Regions from separate parts of the Homo sapiens genome. Here all the other regions are linked to region 3. Evidence: promoter capture Hi-C in 16 types of primary human blood cells and fetal thymus (Javierre and others, 2016). All regions are on one chromosome and are shown on one strand. The core of a region is centred on a gene start or on the middle of the fragment in contact, and the rest is flanking DNA. Distances in the headings are between cores, read along the strand shown.

What was found. The method cuts DNA at HindIII sites, captures the fragments that hold promoters and counts their contacts. A CHiCAGO score of 5 or more calls a contact.
Region 1: a contact is called between the fragment with the promoter of TMEM179B here and the fragment with the promoter of ATL3 in region 3, in 16 of 17 cell types (erythroblasts, naive CD8 T cells, neutrophils and 13 more). The highest score is 24.6, in erythroblasts.
Region 2: a contact is called between a fragment that was not itself captured here and the fragment with the promoter of ATL3 in region 3, in 2 of 17 cell types (megakaryocytes and M1 macrophages). The highest score is 6.5, in megakaryocytes.
Region 4: a fragment that was not itself captured here is called in contact with the fragment with the promoter of ATL3 in region 3 in 1 of 17 cell types (megakaryocytes); the score reaches 6.0 in megakaryocytes.

The regions. Positions count from the first base shown.
Region 1 is chr11:62,786,107-62,788,806 of GRCh38, reverse strand. It overlaps TMEM179B (transmembrane protein 179B), which reads right to left and starts at 1,405. Exons shown (of 5, transcript NM_199337.3): 1 at 1,280-1,405. The coding sequence starts at 1,375. TAF6L (TATA-box binding protein associated factor 6 like) reads right to left here. Exons shown (of 11, transcript NM_006473.4): 10 at 2,419-2,547; 11 at 1,465-2,290. The coding sequence ends at 1,511. It also overlaps a transcript of TMEM223 not described here. RefSeq lists a silencer at 1,775-1,884 and an enhancer at 2,135-2,334. The HindIII fragment of the contact is 7,473 bases long and covers 1-2,700 here.
Region 2 is chr11:62,878,366-62,881,065 of GRCh38, reverse strand. It overlaps SLC3A2 (solute carrier family 3 member 2), which reads right to left and starts at 170. Exons shown (of 9, transcript NM_001013251.3): 1 at 1-170. The coding sequence starts at 42. RefSeq lists enhancers at 1-148, 1-429, 799-848. The HindIII fragment of the contact is 6,323 bases long and covers 1-2,700 here.
Region 3 is chr11:63,670,020-63,672,808 of GRCh38, reverse strand. It overlaps ATL3 (atlastin GTPase 3), which reads left to right and starts at 1,433. Exons shown (of 13, transcript NM_015459.5): 1 at 1,433-1,519. The coding sequence starts at 1,474. RefSeq lists enhancers at 917-1,026, 1,067-1,566, 1,567-2,068 and silencers at 1,117-1,236, 1,557-1,616, 1,647-1,906. The HindIII fragment of the contact is 2,416 bases long and covers 1-2,047 here.
Region 4 is chr11:63,025,103-63,027,810 of GRCh38, reverse strand. No RefSeq gene overlaps it. Among named protein-coding and RNA genes, the nearest start is that of SLC22A8, 11 kb to the right of the region's middle. The HindIII fragment of the contact is 233 bases long and covers 1,176-1,408 here.

The DNA of each region.
Region 1 (2,700 bases), core at 156-2,655, 880 kb after region 3:
TATAGAATGCAATGAGCTTCAGAGAAGCCTCACAAGTTATGGTCTCTGTGCAGAAACCTTAGAGTAAACCCAGGCCTTGTATATCCTTCAACAAATAACTATCTGTGAGGTGCTTTTTTTTTTTTTTTTTGCTGGAGTGCAGTGGCGCCATCTCGGCTCACTGCACGCTCTGCCTTCTGGGTTCATGCCATTCTCCTGCCTCAGCCTCCTGAGTAGCTGGGACTACAGGCACCCGCCACCATGCCTGGCTAATTGTTTGTATTTTTAGTAGAGACAGGGTTTCACCGTGTTGGCCAGGATGGTCTTGATCTCCTGACCTCGTGATCCGCCTGCCACGGCCTCCCAAAGTGCTGGGATTACAGGCGTGAGCCACCAGGCCCGGCCAGTGTTTTTGTTTTTGTTTTTGCGATGGAGATTCGCTCGTCACCCAGGCTGGAGTGCAATGGCACGATCTCGACTCACTGCAACCTCCGCCTCCCAGGTTCAAGCGATTCTCCTGCCTCAGCCTCCGAAGTAGCTGGGATTACAGGCATGAGCCACCACACCCGGCTAATTTTTGTATTTTTAGTAGAGACAGAGTTTTGCCATGTTGGCCAGGCTGGTCTCGAACTCCTGACCTCAAGTGATCCGCCTGCCTCAGCCTCCCAAAGTGCTGGGATTACAGGCGTGAGTCACCGCGCCCGGCGGATCTCTGAGGTTTTCTCATGGTGTAAAATAGGCACACTAGTGCCTACTTTATAGGCATTAAATGAACCCATGTTTATTAACCAGATTACCTGGCTGGGGTAAACGATGTAAATTATTGGCTTCTACCTTTACGTCAGCGTTTTCTCCATCTCTCATTTTGTCATTTAACACACTGTGCTACAATCATGTGGCAGCTTGATCATCTCCACTACACTATGCTTTATTTCTCGACAAAGCTCAGCACAAATGGCTTCTGATTTAACGGATGGACGCAGGTTCTGCACTGACTTCTGTTTCGGAACCACAGTAAGGCTGTGCAGCAGGAGCCACGAAACCCGACTCCACCTAGTGCTTTAAGACGCTACTGACCCGTCCCTTTGGCGAGGGGACAACTTCGAAGTATGACCTGGCCAGGAGGAGCCACAAAGCGCGATTAGCCTCGCTGCATTTCAGGTACAGGCCGGCGCCAGCCGTGCCTCACCAGGTCCACCGGCTCCGAGCAGCAGCAAGCCCGGTCGGAAAGCGAAAGTGGCCTCGCCATGTCCAGACCGGCCAGCTCCCCCGCCTACCTGACCCCGCCCCGCAGCCGCACCTGGGTCCGAGTCATCGCCGCGGCCGCCACGGCCCCGCACAGGAAGGCGGCAGCAAAGAGCGCAAGCTCGACGCGCTGCAGCCAGGACAGCGCCATGGCGCCCTGACCACCAGGAAGCGCCGCTGCAGCAGCACCCCGCCCAAAGCCCACCTTATCCGGCGCGACCCACGAAGGTGGAGACGTCATTTCCGGGGGCGGGATTTATTTACAAGGAACGAAGGGGCCACTGACTCAGAGCGGCAAGTACAGCGAGTAGTCCGAGAGCGCCCACCGGCGGGCGGGGCGGCTGGTACGGCCGATCATGGGCAGTTTCTGCACGTAGCGCGAGGCCGGGCTAGGCCCGTACGGCGCGGGGAAGGCAGTCTGGAAAAGGCGCCCGCGGCAGCGCCTCCCAGCCTGCCGCCCGGCTATGATGAAACGAAAGTGCGGGGCGCCGCGCGGGGCGAAACGGCTCTTCTGGAAAACGTCGCGGGTGCCGGTCCCGGGGCCCTGCTGCCGGGGTGCCCCGCGCGCCCGATGCACGCGCGGCAAGGGCCTGCTCTCAGAGGCGGCGGGCCCAGAGGCCGACGCGGGGCCGCCTCCGCCGCTGCCCCGGGGGCTCTCGTCGCCGTGCGGGCTGACTATGGCGCTTGCCGTCAGCTGCGGCATCTTCCGCACCGAGTCCGGGGCTGCCGCCGGCTCCTTCTTGTCCCCGGGCGGCCGCGGAGCCGTGGGTGCAGGCTGGCCGGTGCCAAAGCGTGTGGCCAAGCTGTCACCGAAGAAGGCGTAGAGCTCCCGGTAGATGTCGGCCAGGGTCACCGAAAGAGAAGGGTCCTCCGGCCCCGCGCCCCCTGGCGGCAGCGGGAGGCCGGACCCAAAGCTGGGTTCTGCACCGCCCCCGGAGGACGACTCTTGAAAGAGAAGGCTGTCCCATGGCAGGTCGTCCAGGCGCCGGCACCCCCTGCCACCTGGGCCACCCCTGTTGGGCTCTGCTGCCTGGGCCTTCATCTTCAGCAGTCGCTCTACCGCCACCTGTAAGAGCCAAGGACTAAGATAGGCAAAAAATTCGAGGAACCTGGGCCCATCAAATATTCCAAAGTAAGCCTGCTTGGCTGCTAAGCTCATGCAGGGAAGGGAGGCTGGAAGGGGACGGTACTCACCAGAATGGCTCCATAGACTTTGTGTCCATCTGCTTTGACCTGGGCATTAGATACTGAATAATCATCCAGCACAGCCTGCAAGTTTGTCCAGTAGGTGGACAGGTGTGGGTACAGGACTCGTTCTACTGCCTGGAAGGAAGAGAAGGAATACAGTTAGCATGTCTTTGATACTTATTCCCTCTCAAGGACCCTTTCCCATGAAAGACCTACCTTTATCTCTGATCCTAGACAGGGCTCAATCCTCCTAAATTCCCTGATTGGCATATTCAACCATATATTTAT
Region 2 (2,700 bases), core at 185-2,684, 790 kb after region 3:
CAGCTCCACCTCCTTCATATCCACCTCGGTGTCCTGGCTCATGGTGCCTGCAGAACCGGCGACACGACGCAGCTTGCGGTCAGATGGTGGCTCAACCCCTACCTGGACCCTCGGACCCAGAACGCTCTCCCCGGCCTCTGTGCCTCCGCGCAGTTTCGGCTACTGCATCTGCTCAGCAGCAGGCGCGGCCTCTGGGAAGGGGCAGCGGAGCCCCGCCCCGGCCCGCCCCTTAAGGTGGAACCTCGGGGACTGCCCCAGCCGTGGGCGGCTCAGGGTAGTAAAGTCAGGAACACGCCTCCGACAGTACTTCCTGCATGGTCCAATTTCTCATCTCCAACCTGTCTAACCCTAAAGTTCTTTTCAACCTGATTCTGGGAAGGCCTGGCACGGAGCCACCTTTAAGTGGACTAGGCCTGTGATCCTGCCCCAAATCCCGAGGCCCCTCCAGTGTCCTTTAGGCCTTACCGCCCCCAAACGCCCCTCTTCTTCCATTCCGGCAGGCTAGTGACTACCCCAACACCATCCTCCATTTGCCCCTGGTTCACGGCTCCGGCCGCCGTCTGGTTTTCCCAACTTTGCATGGCTACTTGCACTCTCAGAGGCAGCCAGTCACAACTTCTGCCTTTTCCCCCACCAAGGCTTGCCCTCTCAGGCCTCTGGGACTTGGCGCTAGACCTCTGCTAGACCTCTGCTTCCGTGCACGGCTTACTCCCACTCGTTTTTCAAGACTCATCTTGAATTCATTTCAAGAAATTCCTCATGCAGCAACTATTTATTGTGTACTCACTACAATACTTTGCTTTGTTAACTTTATTGAATTTAACACTAATCCAGCCTTCTTCACAGTACTTTAAAATGAATGGTTTGGGCAGGAAGGTTGAGGTAGACACCCCCCTTCTTATCCTACCCCACCCCCAGCTGCTAGCACCTGGATGTTTGGCAGCTAGGAATCAGACATCCAGAAGAGACTGATAGGGCTGTAATGAACATAACAGAGCTAGGTCTCAGAGGCATCCACCTTTTTTGTGGAATAGACCAGAAGATGCCATGGCCAGACTCTTACCCACCTTGCAGGAACTCCCACAGTTATCCCCAAACTCCCCCAAGGTCCTGTCTCCCTATCACTTCACTATGTTAGGCCTTGGAGGCAGCTGGTACTGCAGAGGCTTTGAAGAAGCCTAGAATTCCCTCCACAGGGTCCTTGGATTGAAGTGGGGCAGAGACAGGGTTCACAGCAGGGAACTACCGGACATCAACACCGTGGGGTGCCAACACTCTCAGGAACTCCTTGTTCCTAAACAGTGCCAGTTGGGCTACTTTCAGAGAGGAGCTGGAGGAAATCGGTTCTTTCTCCCTTTCCCACCTAGGCTGGAAGCCAAGATTGCTGTGTATTTGGAAGAAAGCAAAAGCCAAGATCTGAAGTAATAGCATAGAGAAAAGGGTCACCCTCTGCTAGTCCCCTCTGCAACCCCAGGCATCCAACCCCATCCCCACCCTAGGAACAAGGGGTGCACGGGGCAGCCCCTGGGAGAAGGCAAGCAAGTGGGTTCAGACCAGTGCTCAAAGATAATAAGAGATCCAAGGTGCCCTGCATGTGCCAGATAAGAAGTGCCAACCAGAGGTTCTGAATGGACTATATCTCGAGCACAAAAGCTCAAGGCTGGGCGCAGTGTGACTCATGCCTGTCACCTAGCCCTTTAGGAGGCCAAGGAGGGAGGATTCCTTGAGGCCAGGAGTTTAAGACCAGACGGGGCAACATAGTGAGACTCCATTTCTAAATAAATAAAAAAATAAATTTTAAAATTATCTGGGCCTGGCTGGGTGTGGTGGCTCACACCTGTAATCCCACCTACTAATCCCTGTAATCCCACTTCTCATGCTGTGGCATGAGAATCGCTTGAACCCAGGAGGTAGAGGTTGCAGTGAGCCAAGAATGGGCCACTGCACTCCAGTCTGGGTGATAGAGCAAGACTCTGCCTCAAAAAAACTAACAGGCCAGGTGTGGTGGCTGACACCTGTAATCCCAGCACTTTGGGAGGCTGAGGGTGGCGGATAACTTGAGGTCAGGAGTTCGTGACCAGCCTGGCCAACATGGTGAAACCCCATCTCTACTAAAAATACAAAAATTAACTGGACATAGTAGCACACGCCTGTAGTCCCAGACTTGGAGGGGTGAGGCATGAGAATCGCTTGAACCCGAGAGGCAGAGGTTGCAGTGAGCCAAGATTGCGCGGCTGCACTCCAGCCTGGGTGACAGAGTGAGACTCTGTCTCAAAAAAGAAAAAAAAAGGCCAGGCGTGGTGTCTCACACCTGTAATACCAGCACTTTGGGAGGCCGAGGCAGGTGGATCAAGAGGTCAGGAGACCGAGACCATCCTGGCTAACACAGTGAAACCCCGTCTCTACTAAAAATGCAAAAAAAAAAAAAAAAAATCAGCCAGGCGTGGTGGCGGGTGCCTGTAGTCCCAGCTACTTAGGAGGCTGAGGCAGGAGAATGACGTGAACCTGGGAGGCGGAGCTTGCAGTGAGCCAAAATCGCGCCACTGCACTCCAGCCTGGGATACAGAGCAAGACTCCGTCTCAAAAAAAAAAAAAATTATCATCTGTAATTGGTGATGTGCCCCTGGAGTCCCATGAGATGCCAACACTCAAGGGAAGCAAAAGCAGGAGGATCACTTGAGTCCAGGAGTTTGTGAGGCT
Region 3 (2,789 bases), core at 184-2,683:
CAATGAAAGGTAAAACATAAGTCAGATAGTAGCAGGAAGTCTTTTTTTTTTTTTTTTTTTTTGAGATGGAGTCTTGCTCTTTCTCCCAGGCTGGAGTGCAGTGGTGCCATCTCCACTCAATGCAACCTCTCCTGCCTCAGCCTCCCGAGTAGCTGGGATTACAGGCGCCTGCCACCACGCCTGGTTAATTTTTTGTATTTTTAGAAGAGATGGGGTTTCACCATGTTAGCCTGGCTGGTCTTGAACTCCCGACCTCAGGTGATCCAACCACCTCAGCCTCCCAAAGTGCTGGGATTACAGGCGTGAGCCACCGCGCCTGGCCAAGTGGTATGAAGTCTTTTGGAGAAAAGTAATGCAGGGAAAAGGAGCAGAGAATGCTGGGATGTGCGTGCAAGTTTTTTTTTTTTTTTTTTGATGGAGTTTTGCTCCTGTTGCCTACGCTGGTGTGCAATGGTGCGATCTCGGCTCACTGCAACCTCCGCCTCCTGGGTTCAAGCGATTCTCCTGTTCAGCCTCTGGACTAGCTGGGATTACAAGCGTGCGCCACTACGCCTGGCTAATTTCGTATTTTTAGTAGAGACGGGGATTCTCCATGTTGGTCAGGCTGGTCTCGAACGCCCACGACCTCAGGTGATCCACCCGCCTCGGCCTCCCAAAGTGCTGGGATTACAGGCGTGAGGCACGGCGCCCGGCCTGGACTTCTTACATTAGCTATCAGAGCGGTGATGGTGCGCATCAGCCATGGCCAGGGACAGGAATATAGGGAGATGATAATAAAGGTGGTAATGAAGTCACGGCCACCTGCCCTTATGAAGTCAAAATCATTAAAGACCCAGTGACGTTCATGCCATCCAGGGTTGAGGCCTCTCTTCTGCCCACCTGTGGTCCCAGGCCTAGTTAAACACCAAAGCTGTCTCTCACACTGGTGGTTCCAGGATAAAGCCTCGGCCTGGGGCCTGGTCTGCACGTTAGGCGCCGGCCGCAGCTCGCAGGAGGACCCGAGCCAGCCCGCCCCTTCCCGCACAGCCTGCTGGGAGTTGTAGTTCAGTCGTCGGAGAACCACGCCAAGCCCCGCCCCAGATGAGTGCGCAGTATGAGGACCGCTGGCCGGGACCCAGTGAGCGCGGGACTACAATTCCCAAAGGACGGTAGCACTCAGCGCCCCGCCAACAGGTACCCGGCGGCTCGCTTCGCGCACACGCGGCAGGCGGTGGCGGGATTCTGCCGCGTGCGCTTTCCCGCCCCGCCTCGCCTAGCCTCGTCCTGCGCTCGCCACGCCTCGGGCTGTCCGTTGGGCCACGCAGACCGCGCTGCGCTCGCTCCGTCGCGGCTCCGCGTGCCCCACCTTCTGGCTAGTTTTTTCTAGAGCCCAGGCTCCGCCCGTTTCCCGCTTCCAGGGCCCGGTTCGTTCCCGCCCGCACCCGTCCCTCTCCTCTGCACCCCTGCTGCTTCTGCTTTGAAGGCGGAGGCTCCATGTTGTCCCCTCAGCGAGTGGCAGCAGCTGCCTCAAGAGGAGCAGGTGAGGCGCCGATTTTCCCTGGATCGCCCCGCGGCCACCCCCGCCGCCTTCCCTGCTGTAGTTCTGAAAAGAACCCCCGCCCGCGCCGCCGCCCTTCCTCGTCCCGGGGCTGGGACCGCGCGTCCCTCGCCGGGGTCACTCGGTTTCCGAATTTGTGGTGGGGGGGCCCCTCTTCGGGCCCAGCTGGTCCAGCGAGGGCGGCACCTTCCTTACTTTTCGGCCGGGGGCGGCCGCCGTCAGGGCTCGGGCCCTGGTGCCGCCGGGGGCTCCTCCAGCTCCTCCCCTGGGCTGCAGCTGCCCCTGGGCGGCCCAAGGGCCGGTGGTCCCCGTGGGCGGCGTCCGGAGCTTCGGCCCCGCCGAGCCCCGCCCTGGGCAGAGCCGGGCGCCCCAGGGCGCTGCCCCTCCGTGCCCGGGCACTCAGCGCCCTCTCTGGTCGGAGAATCGGGGCCTGGATGGAGCGGGAAGGTGAATGCTGGTTTATTTGGCCTTTCTGGAAGTGCTGGAAGGCTGCGAAGTGTCTTGGAAGCTTTATTTTTATCCTAACGACCTTGAGGCACTGACCACAAGTATTAGGAAAGTTGGTTTTCAACCCATACTTAACGCTGTAAAGAATTGGTCTAAATTGGTTTTTCGTAAGTTAGTGCTTTTGGCACAGTACGTTGTTCTTTTGCTTTCCCGAAGACATGAAACATAGTGAAAGTATTAAAAACCAAATAAGGAGTCACCGTGTATTCACGGATCTGATTTAGTCTGTCATTTTACTTGGCTTTATTCTAGTGTAATGTGTGTGCTGTTGAAATGACCGTTTCACTTGCGAAATCGAAGAGCAAAAAGGAAAAGAACAGTGAAGAATTTTTAAATGAGTCTCAGTTCTCAAATTCAAATACGAAGCAATGGAACGTTTTGTCAGTCTTAGAATAACGGACCAAAAATGTACGATTTCACATATTGGCTTACTTTTGGAGATTTAAGAAGCATAACCTACGGAGTACTAATCCCTGTCAAGAATTTAGCATTGCAACATAGGTACTGAAATTCAAATTAGTGCTTTTTTTTTTCCATTCCCACAGAGATTAGCTTGTACTCCAGAAATTCCTGTTGCCGCTCTAACACCTGTAAACACTTGGCTGAGAAGGATCTCAGTATTGCAGTAGTCCAGCACATTGTTTTATTATTATTTTTTGAGACGGAGTTTTGCTCTGGTCACCCAGGCTGGAGTGCAATGGCGCGATCTCGGCTGATTGCAACCTCCGCTTCCTGGGTTCAAGCA
Region 4 (2,708 bases), core at 43-2,542, 640 kb after region 3:
TTTGGACTATGGACTTTTGAGTTAATGTTGGAATGAGTTAAGACTTTGGGGGACTGTTGGGAAGGGATGATTGGTTTTGAAATGTGAGGACATGAAATTTGGGAGGGGCCAGGAGTGGAATGATACGGTTTTGCTCTATCCCCACCCAAATCTTGAATTGTAGCTCCCATAATTCCCACGTGTCATGGGAGAGACCCAGTAGGGGGTAACTGAATCATGGGGGTGGGCATTTCCCATGATAGTGATTTCATGATAGTGAATAAGTCTCACAAGATCTGATGGTTTTATAAAGGGGAGTTCCCCTGCACACACCCTCTCTTGCCTGCCACCACGTAAGATGTGACTTTGTTTCTCCTTCATCTTCCACCATGATTGTGAGGCCTCCCCAGCCATGTGGAACTGCGAGTCCATTAAACCTCCTTTCCTTTATAAAGTACTCAGTCTTGGGTATCTGTATTGTCAGCATGAGAACAGACTAATACACTGTCCCCTCAATGGGACCTCACCCAAGAGGCTACCTGCGAGCAGAAGGCAACCCCAGCAGAAAGAGGCTTTTTTGGTAGTACTGGGCAGAGTGTGAGAGATCAGCTGGGCATCACTCACATCAAGAATGGTGTGGGGGCCGGGCACGGTGGCTCACGCCTGTAATCCCAGCACTTTGGAAGTCTGAGGTGGGCAGATCACCTGAGGTCGGGAGTTCAAGACCAGCCTGGCCAACATGGTGAAACCCCATCTCTACTAAATTGCAAAAATTAGCCACGTGTGGTGGTGCACACCCATAATCCCAGCTTCTAGGGAGGCCTAGGCAGGAGAATTGCTTGAACCCAGAAGGCAGAAGTTGCAGTGAGCCAAAACTGCACCACTGCACTCCAGCCTGGGTGACAGAGTGAGACTCCATCTCAAAACAAAAAAAACAATGGTATGGGCAGAGTTCCTGGAGGGGGAAGCCCAGCAGTACACCCCACATGGATGACAAGAGCACAACTGAGGAGCCCTCTCCTCTTCCTTTCCTCCCTCCTCCCTTCCCAGACCCTGAAGGAGCTGAAGCAGCTGCTAGGAGTGGGAGGGGAGGTGAATCCGAGAGAGTGAGGACATTGGCCATACACCCGCTGCCCATCCCCCCAACCTTCCCCACTGCGGAAAGCCAGGCCTGGTCAGCTTGAATAGGAGAAGCTTTATATTGGATGGAAGATAAATATTTTTATTTATATAGGACTGGGTTTATTTTCTTAACCTGACAAAAGCAGTTTCCTTTTTGCCCAACATTTTATAAGAATTTTCAAACATATAGAAAAGTTGAAAGAATAGTATAATAAATACCTATATATTCACCACCTAGATTCAAAACTTGTTAACATTGTGTGTATGTGTGTATACATGGTCTTGCTAAATCACTTGAAAGCAAGCTTCAGACACCATGACTCTTCATTCTTAAATCCTTCAATGTACATCTCCTAAAAGAATCAGACTTTTAATGTCTAAAATTGAAATTGATCTAATACCTGAAAAAAATGGGTAAACTATACTTAGCTGAAACATTTTCAAGGAGGGGTGCTATGGTTTGAATGTCCCCTCCAAAACTCATGTTGAAATTTAATTGCTATTGTGATGGTATTAATAGCTGGGGGCCCGGCACAGTGGCTCACACCTGTAATCCCTGCACTTTGGGAGGCCAAGGCGGGTGGATCACCTGAGGTCAGGAGTTCAAGACAAGCCTGGCCAACATGGTGAAACCCCATCTCTACTAAAAATACAACAATTAGCTGAGTCTGGTGGCATGCGCCTGTAATCCCAGCTACTTGAGAGGCTGAGGCAGGAGAATCGCTTGAACCTGGGAGGTGGAGGTTGCAGTGAGCCAAGATCGTGCCACTGCACTCCAGCCTGGGAGATGACAGTGAAACTCCGTCTGGAAAAAAAAAAAAAAAAAACAGGTGGGAACTTGAAGATATGATTAGGTCATGAGGGCTCTGCCCTCATCAGTGGGTTAATGCTGTTATCAGAGGAGTGGGTTAGTTATCCCGGAAGCAGGCTCCTGGTAAAAGGATAAGTTCAACCCCCAGTTCTGTCTGTGTCTCACACTCTCTCACCCTCTCTCACCATGTGATGCCTGCCACTATGTTATGATGCAGCACTAAGGCCATCACTAGATGCAGTACCATGCTCTTGGACTTCCCACCCTCCAGAACCATGAGCCAAATGAATCTCTTTTTTTATTTTTTTTAAATTACCCAGTCTGTGGTATTCTGTTATAGGCAACAGAAAATGGACAAAGACAATGTGGGGAGAGAGAAGCAACAGAGCAAGTGCAAGGATGGAGGCAGAAGAAAAATAAAAACTATACCCTACTTTGCACTCTACAAAATCCAGCCCATAAAATGACCCAGTTTCACAGAGATAAGACAATTTCAGATCATGACAGGTGCTATGAAGAAAATCAAACAAGACAGAGGTGATAAGAGTATGGCTAGAAGGTAAGGCAACATTGGAGTGGCTGGTAAGAAATGAAATCCCCAGAAAAAGAAGGTGACATTTGAGATGAGACCTTGATGACAAGGATGACCTGGCAATGTAAGACAATCAGGAGAACAGCATTCAAGTCAGGGTAACCAATGAGGCCAAAGGCCTGGAGGCAAAAGGAGCATGGAGTAATATCTTGGTGAGGGAGAGGTGGCAGAAAGTACTGAGGCAGGAGAGGTGATCACAGACCA